4 separate regions of the Homo sapiens genome follow, and regions 1, 2 and 4 are each linked to region 3. Evidence: promoter capture Hi-C in 16 types of primary human blood cells and fetal thymus (Javierre and others, 2016). All regions are on one chromosome and are shown on one strand. The core of a region is centred on a gene start or on the middle of the fragment in contact, and the rest is flanking DNA. Distances in the headings are between cores, read along the strand shown.

What was found. Contacts are between HindIII fragments. The CHiCAGO score rates a contact against its expected background, and 5 or more counts as called.
Region 1: a contact is called between a fragment that was not itself captured here and the fragment with the promoter of DGCR2 in region 3, in 1 of 17 cell types (total B cells). The highest score is 5.3, in total B cells.
Region 2: a contact is called between a fragment that was not itself captured here and the fragment with the promoter of DGCR2 in region 3, in 3 of 17 cell types (naive CD8 T cells, neutrophils and activated CD4 T cells). The highest score is 8.3, in naive CD8 T cells.
Region 4: a fragment that was not itself captured here is called in contact with the fragment with the promoter of DGCR2 in region 3 in 1 of 17 cell types (naive B cells); the score reaches 5.0 in naive B cells.

What each region holds. Positions count from the first base shown.
Region 1 is chr22:19,469,792-19,472,920 of GRCh38, forward strand. UFD1 (ubiquitin recognition factor in ER associated degradation 1) reads right to left here. Exons shown (of 12, transcript NM_005659.7): 4 at 1,896-2,017. Among named protein-coding and RNA genes, the nearest start is that of UFD1, 7.8 kb to the right of the region's middle. The HindIII fragment of the contact is 3,344 bases long and covers 1-3,129 here.
Region 2 is chr22:19,410,830-19,413,884 of GRCh38, forward strand. The region is part of intron 1 of HIRA (histone cell cycle regulator); the gene reads right to left. Among named protein-coding and RNA genes, the nearest start is that of HIRA, 19 kb to the right of the region's middle. The HindIII fragment of the contact is 3,879 bases long and covers 1-3,055 here.
Region 3 is chr22:19,120,966-19,124,076 of GRCh38, forward strand. DGCR2 (DiGeorge syndrome critical region gene 2) reads right to left here and starts at 1,447. Exons shown (of 10, transcript NM_005137.3): 1 at 1,163-1,447. The coding sequence starts at 1,241. RefSeq lists an enhancer at 806-1,307 and silencers at 1,092-1,211, 1,332-1,771. The HindIII fragment of the contact is 21,190 bases long and covers 1-3,111 here.
Region 4 is chr22:19,504,088-19,507,090 of GRCh38, forward strand. CDC45 (cell division cycle 45) reads left to right here. Exons shown (of 19, transcript NM_003504.5): 10 at 1,275-1,394. Among named protein-coding and RNA genes, the nearest start is that of CLDN5, 19 kb to the right of the region's middle. RefSeq lists enhancers at 1,784-2,284, 2,285-2,785. The HindIII fragment of the contact is 4,984 bases long and covers 1-3,003 here.

The DNA of each region.
Region 1 (3,129 bases), core at 286-2,785, 350 kb after region 3:
AAGAGGTGGCCTGATGGCTTCACACCCCAAACCAGCTCCAGGCTACCTAAAGAGGCTTTCCAGGGGAGAAAGGGTTCAATTAGTTTCCTGGTCTAAAGCAGTCCAACAGCTTGGACAAGAGGCCACCCAAACTTCAAGTCTATGGGTTAAAGGAGAACCTTCGAGATACAGTGTATCCCCAGCATCACCACCTCCTCTTATAGGTGAGCCACAGAAGGGACTGGGGAAGTAGTCACTGCCTGACACTTCAGCTACCTAGAGTGGCTTCAGTGACCAGGTGTTCTACCGGATGAGCACAATGTGGCCTCAGGCCCTTGGGGGCACCTGCAGACAAACACAAGAATAGCAAGGGGCTGAGCAGCAAATACTGGGGAGGGCAGGTGAGCCAATCTGGGCTTTGAGGCATAAAAGCCCCCCAACAGGCCAGGTTGGGCAGGCCTAGTCAGCTGAGGTGAGGAGGCAGCATGGGAAGGCCAGGCACTAGGAGGTGCAATGGGAGTGCAGGGCTCTTGTCGGGGAGACACTGGCCAGGCCCAGACCTTGGGAAGGACCCTGGGACCCAGGCTGAAGAGGATGCCACTACCATGGCAGCATGGGCAAGGTCACCTGCTACAGCAGGAAAGAGACCTTCAGAATTTTGATTCATATTATTGTTGTTTTTTTTTTTTGAGATGGAGTCTCGCTCTGTCGCCCAGGCTGGAATGCAATGGCATGATCTCGGCTCACTGCAACCTAAGCCTCCTGGGTTTAAGCCATTCTCTTGCCTCGGTCTCCCAAGTAGCTAGGACTACAGGCACGTGCCACCACACCCGGCTAGTCTTTGTATTTTTAGTAGAGACGGGGTTTCACCATGTTGGCCAGGCTAGTCTCGAACTCCTGACCTCAAGTGATCTGCCCACTTTGGCCTTCCGAAGTGCTGGGATTAGAGGCGTGAGCCACCGTACCTGGCCAGAATTTCAATTCATATTTAATCTCAGAAAATATTAGTTAAGGCCATCCCTTCTGAACGTCTGGCGGCCACCATGATAGGGCATCAGCAGGAGAGGTGGGCTGTGCTTCAGACCACCTCCCTGGTGGCAGCCAAGCAAGCACTCCTGAGAGTTTCCAGCCCACAGCTCACTGCGGGGTCTCTCAGTATGCCTGATGTAATCCAAGCACAAAGAGAAGGACAAGCAGGTCCCTTTGTGAACTTCCCTAATGTGCCAGAGCTGGGGAGAGGAGTGAGGAGAAGAAGGAGCCAAGTGGGCCACAGCTACCTGTGTGGAACTCTCACTGCTGCAGGCTCCTCCCTACAGCACTGGCACAGTTCTGCTCACTTCTCTGAGGGGTACAGCCTTGAGGGCAGGCTCTGGTGGCTCACACGCCCTGGATATCCCAGCCCAGATCTGCAATGACATCCTTCAAGTCAACTTTCCAAAGAGAGCCTGCTTGTAAGGAAAAAGACGTCACTCCCATGGCAGCTCAGTTGAGAGATTTGGGAGACTACGTCAGAGGTAACTGAAAACATGTATGCTGTGACAGACTACTAAAAGTAGGGGAAAAGCATAAAAACCTCAAACACCCTACTTACTAGACCACCTAAAAAATACTGTTGCTCCATTATTTTTAAAAACGCCTCACCCAGGAAATCACAGATGAACAGTTCAGCTGCGCAACTATCAAAGAAAAGGCCACTCCCACAGCACAGTGGCCCACAGGTGCGTCCAGAGCCCACCAGCCCGCATAAGGCACAGTGCACTGCTCTGGATCCCTTCTCTCTCGCTGGGTCGGCTCAGGCTAAGACGCTGAGCAGGAGGAGTAGGCGGGGCCACCTGCTCCAGGGCCAGGACTCTCGAGTGCAGGAGATGTCTCTGCCTAAGTGGCTGCTCTCTAGAGACCCTGGCAGCCCCACTCACCCAGTGTGGGAGGTAGCAGATGCCCTCATCAGCCACAAACTCCAGCACGCCACAATGCGTCATGCGGTCCGAATTCTTATTGGTCAGTTTGAACAGCATGGGATAGGTAATGTTAAGTCGGCCTGAAAATAAGAGAGAGACTATGAGGCACAGCTCCTATGAAGGGACACCTGTTCGGCCCACGCCTTCCCATAGAAGGAGCCTCCCCACAATCCTGCCCTCAACCCCACACTCCTCTGGCAGATGAATCCCCCTCTGTGAGAGCACAGTGCACGGCTCAAGGAGGAACCTGGCAACTTGGTAACACAGCACTGGCATAGACTTGTGATTTTCTGAAGTCAACATTTTAAAAAGTGATGTGTTCATTCATTTATTCATAAATAATTTCAGTGCCCACCATGCCCTGGACAAAATCCCGACCTTCAAAGGTTTCTAGTTTGAAGGTAGAAACCTTCCAACAAAGAAAACCACAACCAGATGCTGCAGGTGCTGTGGGAAGAGCTGGCAGGAGGGGGCAGAGCTACTGGGCTAGGCTCCTAGAGGCCGAGTTCTTTAGGCTGGGCACTGGGCGGGCAGACCTGGGAGGAAATCCAGGCAGAGGTGGCAGCCTGAGCAAAGGCGTGGAAGGGAAGAGGAGCCCAGGCAGTTCAGAAATGGTGGATAATTAGGCAAGACAGGCTGGGGACAGGTGTGCGAGTGGTTGGGAAGGGGAGGGGCACCACACGGGGTAGAACCTAGGGCCTGGGCCCAGCGGGCAGTGTGAGCTCTCAGCAGGGTCATGACATAGGACGCCCCCTCTCTCTGATGGACCTTGAGGTGTGGGCTGAAAGCAAGGCCAGAGGCAAGTAAGCTGGACTGGTGACGTGCTGACCCAAGAGGTGCACAGGCACATAAAGGAAGGGCTGGCAAAAAGAGGCAGGAAAACCCAGGAGACACTGGGCCCCCGGGAGAAGACCGAGAAGGAACTGATGGTAGTGATGGTGTTTGCCATGTGTAAGGCCCTTGTTCAGTCTTCCCAGAACAGTCAGGTAGGTACTATCATTATCCCCTTTTATCTATGGGGAAACTAAGGCCCACAGGTTAAGTAACAGCACACAAGTGGTGAGCACACAAGACCTCACAGCACACAAGTGGTGATGCCAGGATTCAAACCAAGGCTGCTGGCTTAAGTCCAGGGATTCAACCATCAAAGCAGAATTTAGCTTGTTAGTTCAGACAAATATTCCAATAAAAA
Region 2 (3,055 bases), core at 545-3,044, 290 kb after region 3:
AAGTGTATCAAACTCAACAGATTCAGTTAAAGTCTAAACTGCTAGAAGATTCTCCAAACATCAGACAACTGAAAGTCCAACAGTGGGAGAAAGCATTCCATCACTGAGAATGGCTGAGCCCATAGGATGCCTGGGCATTTGTCTGCCATCTTGTAGGGATGTGTGTTTGTAATGGCTATGAGCTGTTCATGATTGAAGTTCTGAGTCTCAGGTACTTAGTGAAAAGGGCACACAGCTGTAACTCCAGACATCTCCCTATTGCATGGATCTGCACTTGACTGGCAGCCTAGACAGAAGGACTGCTATTTGTCTTTTCTGGCTGACAGCTGAGCAGGACCAGCGCTGGCTGCAACCAAGGAGCATTGCTTCGCTTGTCATACTTCTGCTTCCAAACAGCCCTCTTTTGTTTGTGCTGTGAAGTTCCCATACCGTCTGCCATCTCAGCATCTCCTCTGGCTGAACCTCCTTCACAGTTTGTACTCTATGTTAAATTAGCTGTTCAATTCCTCCAGGAGAAAGGACTGTGGCTATTAGTTCTTAGAAGCCCCAAAGAGCCCAGTATGGGCCTAGGCTTGCACTAGGATCCCATGAAGCTAGCTGGCTGGCTGGGTGGGTGGATCAGACCGGCAAAAGCACTGTAGGAGCTTGAAACCCAGCAGACCATAGAAGGCACTCACGCCTGGTGGGCATTTGTCCAGCTCCCTGCTTCTAGGACAAAGGTTTAAGAGCTACAAGTGGCATGTCAGTTGCTGTTGAGTTCATCACATCTTCAGCCTCTAGCACAGTACCCAGTGTACAGTAGCGCAGTAATATTTGTTCATTGACAAAGGAGATACATGACAATGATCTGAGCATCAACAATTGCTGATATAGATGGGCTGTTGCCAAGAGTCTCTTAATTGAACATGTTCTGTCTCTGTCACCCAAGAGGAGGCAATGTGGACACAGTACCAGAGTCACCAGCCCTAGAATCACTCAGCAAGTACTGGGATCAGGAGTGTGTGGGCAGGCAGTGGCTGTCTGAGAACTGTGAAGTCCTGCCAGGGCTCCCATGCAAGTGTGAAAATTAAATGCTGGTGCCCAAAAGGCACTGCCCAGCATGGGACCCAGGCAGCACCCAGCTGTGGAGAGCCGCAGCCATGTAGTCAAATCAAGCATGAACTTGAGATAAAATACACTTTCCTTCTTACTGGTCACTATGTAGTATAGGTTGAGTATCCCTTATCTGAAACACCTGGGACCCGTTTTAACCAAAGGGAAATGACAGAAGTAATGTTGCTCCAGTTCCAGGTGTAGGCCTTAAGAGTCTAGCAGTTCAACTTTGGCTCTCTGGAGAAACCTAGTTGTCATGTGAGAAGTCCAAGTACCCTGAGACCACCATGTTTTGAAGAGGCCCAAGCTGGCCACATGTAGAGCATCAAAGAGCCCGGACAAGTGAGAATCAAGGTCACAGACACAGGCCTGGTGAGGTGTTCTATCCCCAAGCTATTCGAGCCATCCCAGCAGATTCCATAGAGCCAAGATGAGCTGAACCTGCTAAGTCCTGACAAGCTGCAGAATTATGAGCAAATAATAAAACTGTTATTGGTTTAAGCCAGCAAATTTAGGGGTTTGTCATATAAGAGATAAACCAAAATGCCAATTCATTTGCTTTTCTGCTTAAGCCAGCTTGAGCTGGGCATTTGTCATTTTAACAAAAAATGTTCTAGCTGACAGCTTTGGTCTTGACGGGCAATCAGGGCGGAACATTCCCCTCCCCTTGGAGTGCTTTTCAGTTCCATAAGTCTGTGAGACATTGTATTACATCAGTCCCCTCAAGAAGCACACCAGAAACCCTTACCTGCAAGTCACAGTTCCCCTGACTACCCAAGAGCACGTACAGGCTGAGCCAGGCTGTGCTGAGGGCTCAGCTGCACAAGTAACCAATTACAGCCCATGCGCTTTAGATCATGCCCACTCACAGCATCAACTGCATGTTTTCTCACTCAGTCTCTGTTTGCAGATTTCTACTATGTGCCAGGCATTAGGCTAAGCAATGAGAAAGTAAAGATACATAATCATACAAACTCCCCTAGTAAGATGTCCACTGATGGACACTTCACAAGCAGAAAGCCACCTGACTCAGCCTCGGGCTTCCTGCAGAAATAATAACTGAATTGGGTCCCAAGGGTTGAGTAAGAGTTAGCCAGAAGATCGGGTGAAGGAGAGGGTTTTCAGGCTGAGGGGACGCACGGCATGGAATCAAGAAATAGGCTGATGTAATGTTGCAGAGCAGACTGCAGGTAGAGAGTGTGAGAAAGAAGAGGAGACAGAGATGGCTCAGCAAGCATCAGTAAGGAGCTGAGACATTTCTCTAAAGGTACTTTCAAGGCAGGGTAATGCCAAGGTCAGATTCACATTCTGGCTCCACAATAGCAGTGTGGAAAATGGGGGTGGGGGCCTCAAGGCTCCAGGGGAAGGCAGGGATGGAGGCTGGCAACAAGTTTGGGTTTTGGCATTAAACATCATGGGCTGAATCTTTAGCCCTGCCACTTACCCAGCTACAAAGCCTTGAGATTTTATTTTATTTTATTTTTATTATTTTGAGAAGGCGTGCCTGGTTCATTGGCACCAGGTTTCCTTTCCTAGTGCTATGCAGATTAGATGAAATATGGTAGGGGACCTACACAGATACCAGCGCAGTGCTGGCTCCCCGCCTCCTTACAGCACTAGGCCTTTCCATCCCAAGGAAAGCAGTCACTCACATTCCATTAGTGGGAATGAAACTATTTATTTATTTATTTATTTATTTATTTATTTATAGACAGAGTTTCGCTCTGTCGCCCAGGCTAGAGTGCAGTGGCGTGATCTCCACTCACTGCAAGCTCCGTCTCCCAGGTTCACGCCATTCTCCTGCCTCAGCCTCCTGAATAGCTGGGACTACAGGTGCCTGCTACCACGCCCAGCTAATTTTGGTATTTTTAGTAGAAACAGGGTTTCACCATGTTAGCCAGGATGGTCTCGATCTCCTGACCTCATGATCCGACCACCTCAGCCTCCCAAAGTGCTGGGATTA
Region 3 (3,111 bases), core at 197-2,696:
GTCCAGGTTGAGCACCGGTCAGGGCCTTGGCCACCAGGCAGGCACTAGGGAGGAGGCAGACATTCCACATAGATGACACAAGCGCAGAGCCAAGAGGTGCGGTGTATCTGGGCTGGGAGCCTGGCTAGGGCACAGGAGAGGGCCACACACCCCGTGCTCCCACACCCAGGTCATCAGAGAAGATGGCCCTGGCACTTCTGCCTTCATGGGACCTTTCCTCCATTAAGAAATATTAAGAGTCATGCTTTTTCACTGTATTAGTATAAAGATGACTGTATTAATATACATACGAAAACATTTTATTTGACCTAAAAGTTCATTTTTTTTCTGCTGACTTTAAAAAAAAATAAAATAACATTCGAAGGCTACTAAAAGTACCGTGGGCAAGTGATACCAGGATTCCTGTGCCTGATGGATACATCGGCCCTGCATTTAGGGAGTTTGATTTTTTGGTGCAGTTCAAGGGGAGGTACACCGAAATAGGTAGAAAAGGGTCTCCTGGTTGCCACGGTTCTGATTCCCCACCACAGACTTAAGAACACACTAGCTCCGAGGGGAGTTCCAAAGCACGGACTCATTCATCACATACACGCAGCACGGCTAAGGGCCCCGCACAGTGGCGAGGTCTCTGCTCCCGGGACGCTCGCGCCGGCCACACAACGCTAGGCTGACTCCTGGTGCCTCCTCTAGGCCCGGTGGGACCTGAGGACTTCCTTAGCGCAACGTCTCACTGAATGACAGCCACAACCACCGCTGTCCAGGCGAGGAGTTTCCAGGACTGAGAGGCTGGCACTAGGCCACTGCTGGGAGGACGTCTGTGAAACCAGGTGCCCCTGAGAGCCACTGTCCCCAGCCCGACTCCGACGCTGGACTGGCGAGAGGGTGCGCCCGTGGCGTAGCTCCTGGCCGCCGCCGCTCCCGGGAAGGGCCCAGAGGCAACATCCTGGACAGCAGAGCTGCACGAAGTCCGAGGCGCCGCGAGCCCAGGTAAGCTCCAGCAGGCGTCCGCAGAGAGTGCCAGGCGGCCCGCGAGCCAGGCCCCGCCCGCCCCTGCCCCAGGCGCGGCCCCTGCAGGAGGGCGCCGCGGGTGAAAGGAGGTCCCGGGGCGACCCCGGCCCCGCTCGCCGCCCAGCCCCCACACCGCCCCCATCGCGCGGCGCACCTGGCCGCAGCGGCTCGGTGACAGTGAGCACGAGCAGGAAGAGCAGCAGGAAGGCGCCGCTGTCTGCCTTGGGCACCATTTATCCTCCGTTCATCGTCCCCGGGGCGGCTGGAAGGCCGGACCAGGCCGGACTGAGGGTCAGGGGACCGTGCCAAGCGGAGGGTCAGGCGGAGCTGAACCTGGGCGAGGCGCGGAGAGGCGGCGGGAAAGAGCTTCGGCTGGGCCGCGGGCTGGCGCACACTCTCGGCTGCAACCTCAGGCACCGACTCCAGCTGCGCGCAAGATGGCGGCCGTCCTGCTCGGCTCCGCGCCGCGCCGCCCCGCCCCGCCTCCCGCCCGCGACGCAGGCGCGGGCCAATGACCGTCAAGATGGGGGGCGGGGCCAGAGCCAAAGCCCTCCGAAGAGGGTGAGGCCTAAGGTCGCGACGGCGGAGGGCGGGGACCTAAGGGCGGGGACTGAGGGGCGGGCTCTAAGGGAAGGGCGGGACCATACGGAGTGAGGCGTGCCATTGGTTAAGCAGAGAGGCAGGGCCGGGGCCGGGGCCTGAGCGGCGGGGCCACCGAAGGGAGTAGGGTCTCTGGACGCCGGTTAGGGACGGCGGGCGCGGGACGGCAAGGATGGACATCGAAAGGCGCGGGGCATGGGGCGGGGCGCCGAGGGGTCGCGCGGGTGGGGAGCGGAGAGAACGAAGTGGGAACCTGGCTGGGACTCCAAGGGTCTTCACACCTGCAAGCTCAGGTCCCGTGAGCAGCCCAAAAGTGCGCCCCAAAGGGGTCTTTTTAAGGCCGAACCGCTGTGGAGGAGGGAGGGCCTGCCGGTTCTGAGGGTGGGGAAAGAGGAACAGGAATGGCCTAAGAGAGTGTCAGGCAAAGAGAGACCGGGAAGGCCAGGTCCTGGAGACTGCAGCGAAGCCGGCTCCCTGGAGGACCTGCCTACACAATGGCTAGGGGAAGGCCACATGTGCAGGAAAGAAAGCTAGGCAGAGAGGAGGCTCAGCGCCCCTGCGAACAGTGCTCCAAGTGCCACTTCTCCCGTCATCACCAACAGGGTGAACCTTGGAGGGCAGTGTCGGCGAAGAGTCCAACTCTGTAAAATATTTGAAGACATTTCTTCTGAGCCAATATGTGACCAATAGCCTGGGACACAGCCCCAGGAGATCCTGACAAGTGCCCAAGGGGGTAGGGCCACAGCTTGGTTTTATACATTTTAGGGAGACAAGACATCAATCAGCACATGTAAGATATACATTGGTTCAGTCGGAAAAGGCGGGACAACTTGAAAGTGGGGGGTGGAGGGGGGCTTCTAGGTCATGCGGATTGGCAGTTGGTTCAAAGAGTTTATCTAAAGACCTGGAATCAATAAAAGGGACTGTCTACATTAAGGGGTTGTGGAGACCAAGTTTCTTAGGCAAATGAAGCCTCCAGGTATCAGGCTTCACAGAGAAAAGACTGTTAATGTTTCTTATTAAAAAGTGCCAGACTCTGCCGGGTGTGGTGGCTCACGCCTGTCATCCCAGCACTTTGGGAGGCCAAGGCGGGCGGATCACCTGAGGTCAGGAGTTCAAGATCAGCCTGGCCAACATGGTGAAACCACATCTCTACTAAAAATACAAAAGTTACCCAGGCGTGGTGGCACACGCCTGTAATCCCAGCTACTCAGGAGGCTGATGGCAGGAGAATCGCTTGAACCGGGGAGGCAGAGGTTGCAGTGAGCCAAGATCATGCCACTGCACTCCAGCCTGGGCAACAGAGTAAGACTCTGTCTCAAAAAAAAAAAAAAAAAAAAGGAAAAAAAAAAGGAAAAATAAATAAAAGGTGCCAGACTCTAGTTAATTCTCTCAGGAGAAAAGACCTTGAAAGGGATAGGGATTCTCTACAGAATGTAGATTTTCCCCACAAAAAACAGCTTTGCAGAGCGACTTCAAAATATGTGAAAGAAACCTGTTTTG
Region 4 (3,003 bases), core at 257-2,756, 380 kb after region 3:
CCACAAGGGGCTCGAGGCTAGACTCACCATAATGTGTTATAGGACCAGCAGGTTTGTATGCCTGCTGTGCAGTAACAGACTTGTTACACTGAGACAGCAGAGTTTGCAGCAGAGGAAGAGTTTCATGATTGCAGGGCACCGAGTGAGAAGATGGGAGGAGATCCTCAAATCCATCTCCTTGAGGAGTTCTGGGCTGGGCTTTTTTGGTTTTGTTTGTTTGTTTGTTTTTGAGATGGAGTTTTGCTCTTGTTGCCCAGGCTGCAGTGCAATGGCGCTGTCTCGGCTCATCGCAACCTCCGCCTCCCAGATTCAAGTGATTCTCCTGCCTCACCCTCCCAAGTAGCTGGGATTACCAGTATGCAGCAACACGCCCGGCTAATTTTGTATTTGTAATAGAGACGGGGTTTCTTCATGTTGGTCAGGCTGGTCTCAAATTCCTGCCCTCAGGTGATCTGCCCACCTTGGCCTCCCAAAGTGCTGGGATTACAGGCATGAGCCACTGTGCCCGGCCTGGGCTGGGGCTTTTAAGGGGACTGGAGGGTGAGGGGCTGGAAAATTGGGAGAGTTGATTGGTGGGGCAAGGGGGATGTAATCATCAGGGTGTACAAACTGCACTCTTGGTTTAGTCAGCTCCTCGTGGGGTCCTTCGGAGCAGCTCAGTCAGTAGCTCCATCAGTATACAGGACCCAAAGGAATATCTCAAAGGGAAAACAGCATTTCCTAAGGTTCAAGTTGTGATCTACGGAGCAGTTAGGGGAACTACAATCTTGTGACAGGGTCTACATGCTTCTGAGGCAATGAGACACCAAGCAGCTACGAGGAAGCAGTCAGAGAGCACGCCGACCTAGTGACTGATGCTGATGTGCTGCGAGCTGGGTTCATTTTCATTTCTCCCCTCCCCCTGCCCTCATTAATTTTGTAAAGTTTATAGGGAACATTTCACCCACTCTGCTGTGGATCCCTGTCACTTACGGAGTCTGTCATCTTGGCTGTATGGGCTGTGGCCTCTGCGGTGCCCATTCTCAGGAGGTGTGAGACCCATGAGGACCGGAGGTGGACAAGGCTAGAGACCACACCCCCCCGCTCCATCCAATCATGTTTTCCTGGGTGCTTGGTTTCTATGCAGGCTGCATGTCCTTAGTCCCTGCATGGGAACAGCTCCTGTGGTGAGCAGGCCCCTGAGGAAGGCCTTGAGCGGGAATGGAGCCTAGGCTTAGGCTGCCTGGTAAGAGCTGGAGGGAACCAGCCGAGGCTTGTGCTACTTTTTTTTCCAGAATGAAATACGTGACTGATGTTGGTGTCCTGCAGCGCCACGTTTCCCGCCACAACCACCGGAACGAGGATGAGGAGAACACACTCTCCGTGGACTGCACACGGATCTCCTTTGAGTATGAGTATCCTTGTGGCCCAGCCTGAGGGGCACAGGCAGCACCCCTGCTCAGCAGGCCTTGTTTGCTTTGTCACCCTCTGTGGGTTCTGGCCACATCCCCAGGAGGGAAAGCAGGTGGGGCAGGAAGTTTTGGGGGAAGGGGCTGTGGTGTGCTACCCCAGCTCATCTGTGTGGCTTTGGCTTCTAAATGCCAGAGCTGAGTTTGGAAGTATCACCCTTCTCCAGCACATCCCTGTAAAGTGCTTATTGTGGGCCTGGCTCTGGACATGGTAGCAGTGCGGGCAGTGGTTCACGCAGTCAGGAAAGAAGGCAGCTGCCATGTAATCACACAGCGTGACGTGTCTTTTGAGAAGCACATGGGACATTGGTGGAGTGCTCAGAAAAGACCATGGGGAGACCACATCTCACACAGTCTCAGCCACACTCAGTGTGGCAGCTGCTGTACTGAGCACAGGAGGGGCTGGGGGACTGGCTGGGGTCAGGTGTCAGGAGGCCAGAGCAAGCCTTGTGAGCCAAGGGCAGCGGGAGGCTGTGGAGTGACCAGAGTTTGAGTCAGGGTTTTTAAAAGGTCCCTTGGCTGCCCAGTAGAGGTAGGTTGGGGGCAAGGAGATGGTCACTGCTTTCCAAGGCCACACAATAGTGGCTTGGCCCAAACTGCAGCAGTGGCTGTAAGCAGTCAGATAGCATGATGTCAGGGACGGAGCTGCCCTGTCTCTGCACTGTGATGGCTGGGAAGGAGGAAGAGTGAGGGTGGACACGTCAGTAGTCAGGTGGCCATCGGAGCCTGGGGAGCGGGGTGGAGCTGGCTGAACTCCTGGGGAGGGGAGCCGCTGTGCACTGGAGCTGGTCCCATCATGTGCGTGGCAGGGTGGGCTCACTTACCCAGGGACCATGGGAGTGTGTGACTGAGACAGGAGGGAGGGAGTCAGGGAGCTGAGGATGCTGGGGCTTGAGGAAGCTGCTGGAGTGTGGGCAGGGAGCATGGTGGTCTGAAGGCCTGGGAGTTCCCAGGAGTTGGGAGGGGCAGTGGTGGGAACTGAGCATGCCGAGGAAGCAGGCAGGACCAGGCTCTCGTCCTGTAGAGGGGAAATCCACCGTGGGGGACAGTCCACACTCACAACTGCGCTCACGGTGCCAGGGGCAGTGATGGATATGTTTAAGAAAAGGGCTGAGGAGGTCGGGCGCTGTGGCTCACGCCTGTAATCCCAGCACTCTGGGAGGCCAAGGCAAGTGGATCATGAGGTCAGGAGATCGAGACCATCCTGGCTAACACGGTGAAACCTCGTTTCTACGAAAAATACAAAAAATCAGCCAGGCATGGTGGCGGGTGCCTATAGTCCCAGCTATTCGGGAGGCTGAGGCAGGAGAATGGCGTGAATCCAGAAGGTGGAGCTTGCAGCGAGCCGAGATCGTGCCACTGCACTCCAGCCTGGGCGACAGAGCGAGACTCCGTCTCAAAAAAAAAAAACGAAAAAAGGGCTGAGGATGGGGGCGCTTCGTGGATGGGGTCCCAGTGGAGGGCTCTCCGGAGGAATGGGTTGTAGGGAGGGCTGGGCTAGGTGGAGCAGGAGGTGCAGGACGACAAGCTGGTGACGCCCAGCCTCCTACGTCAT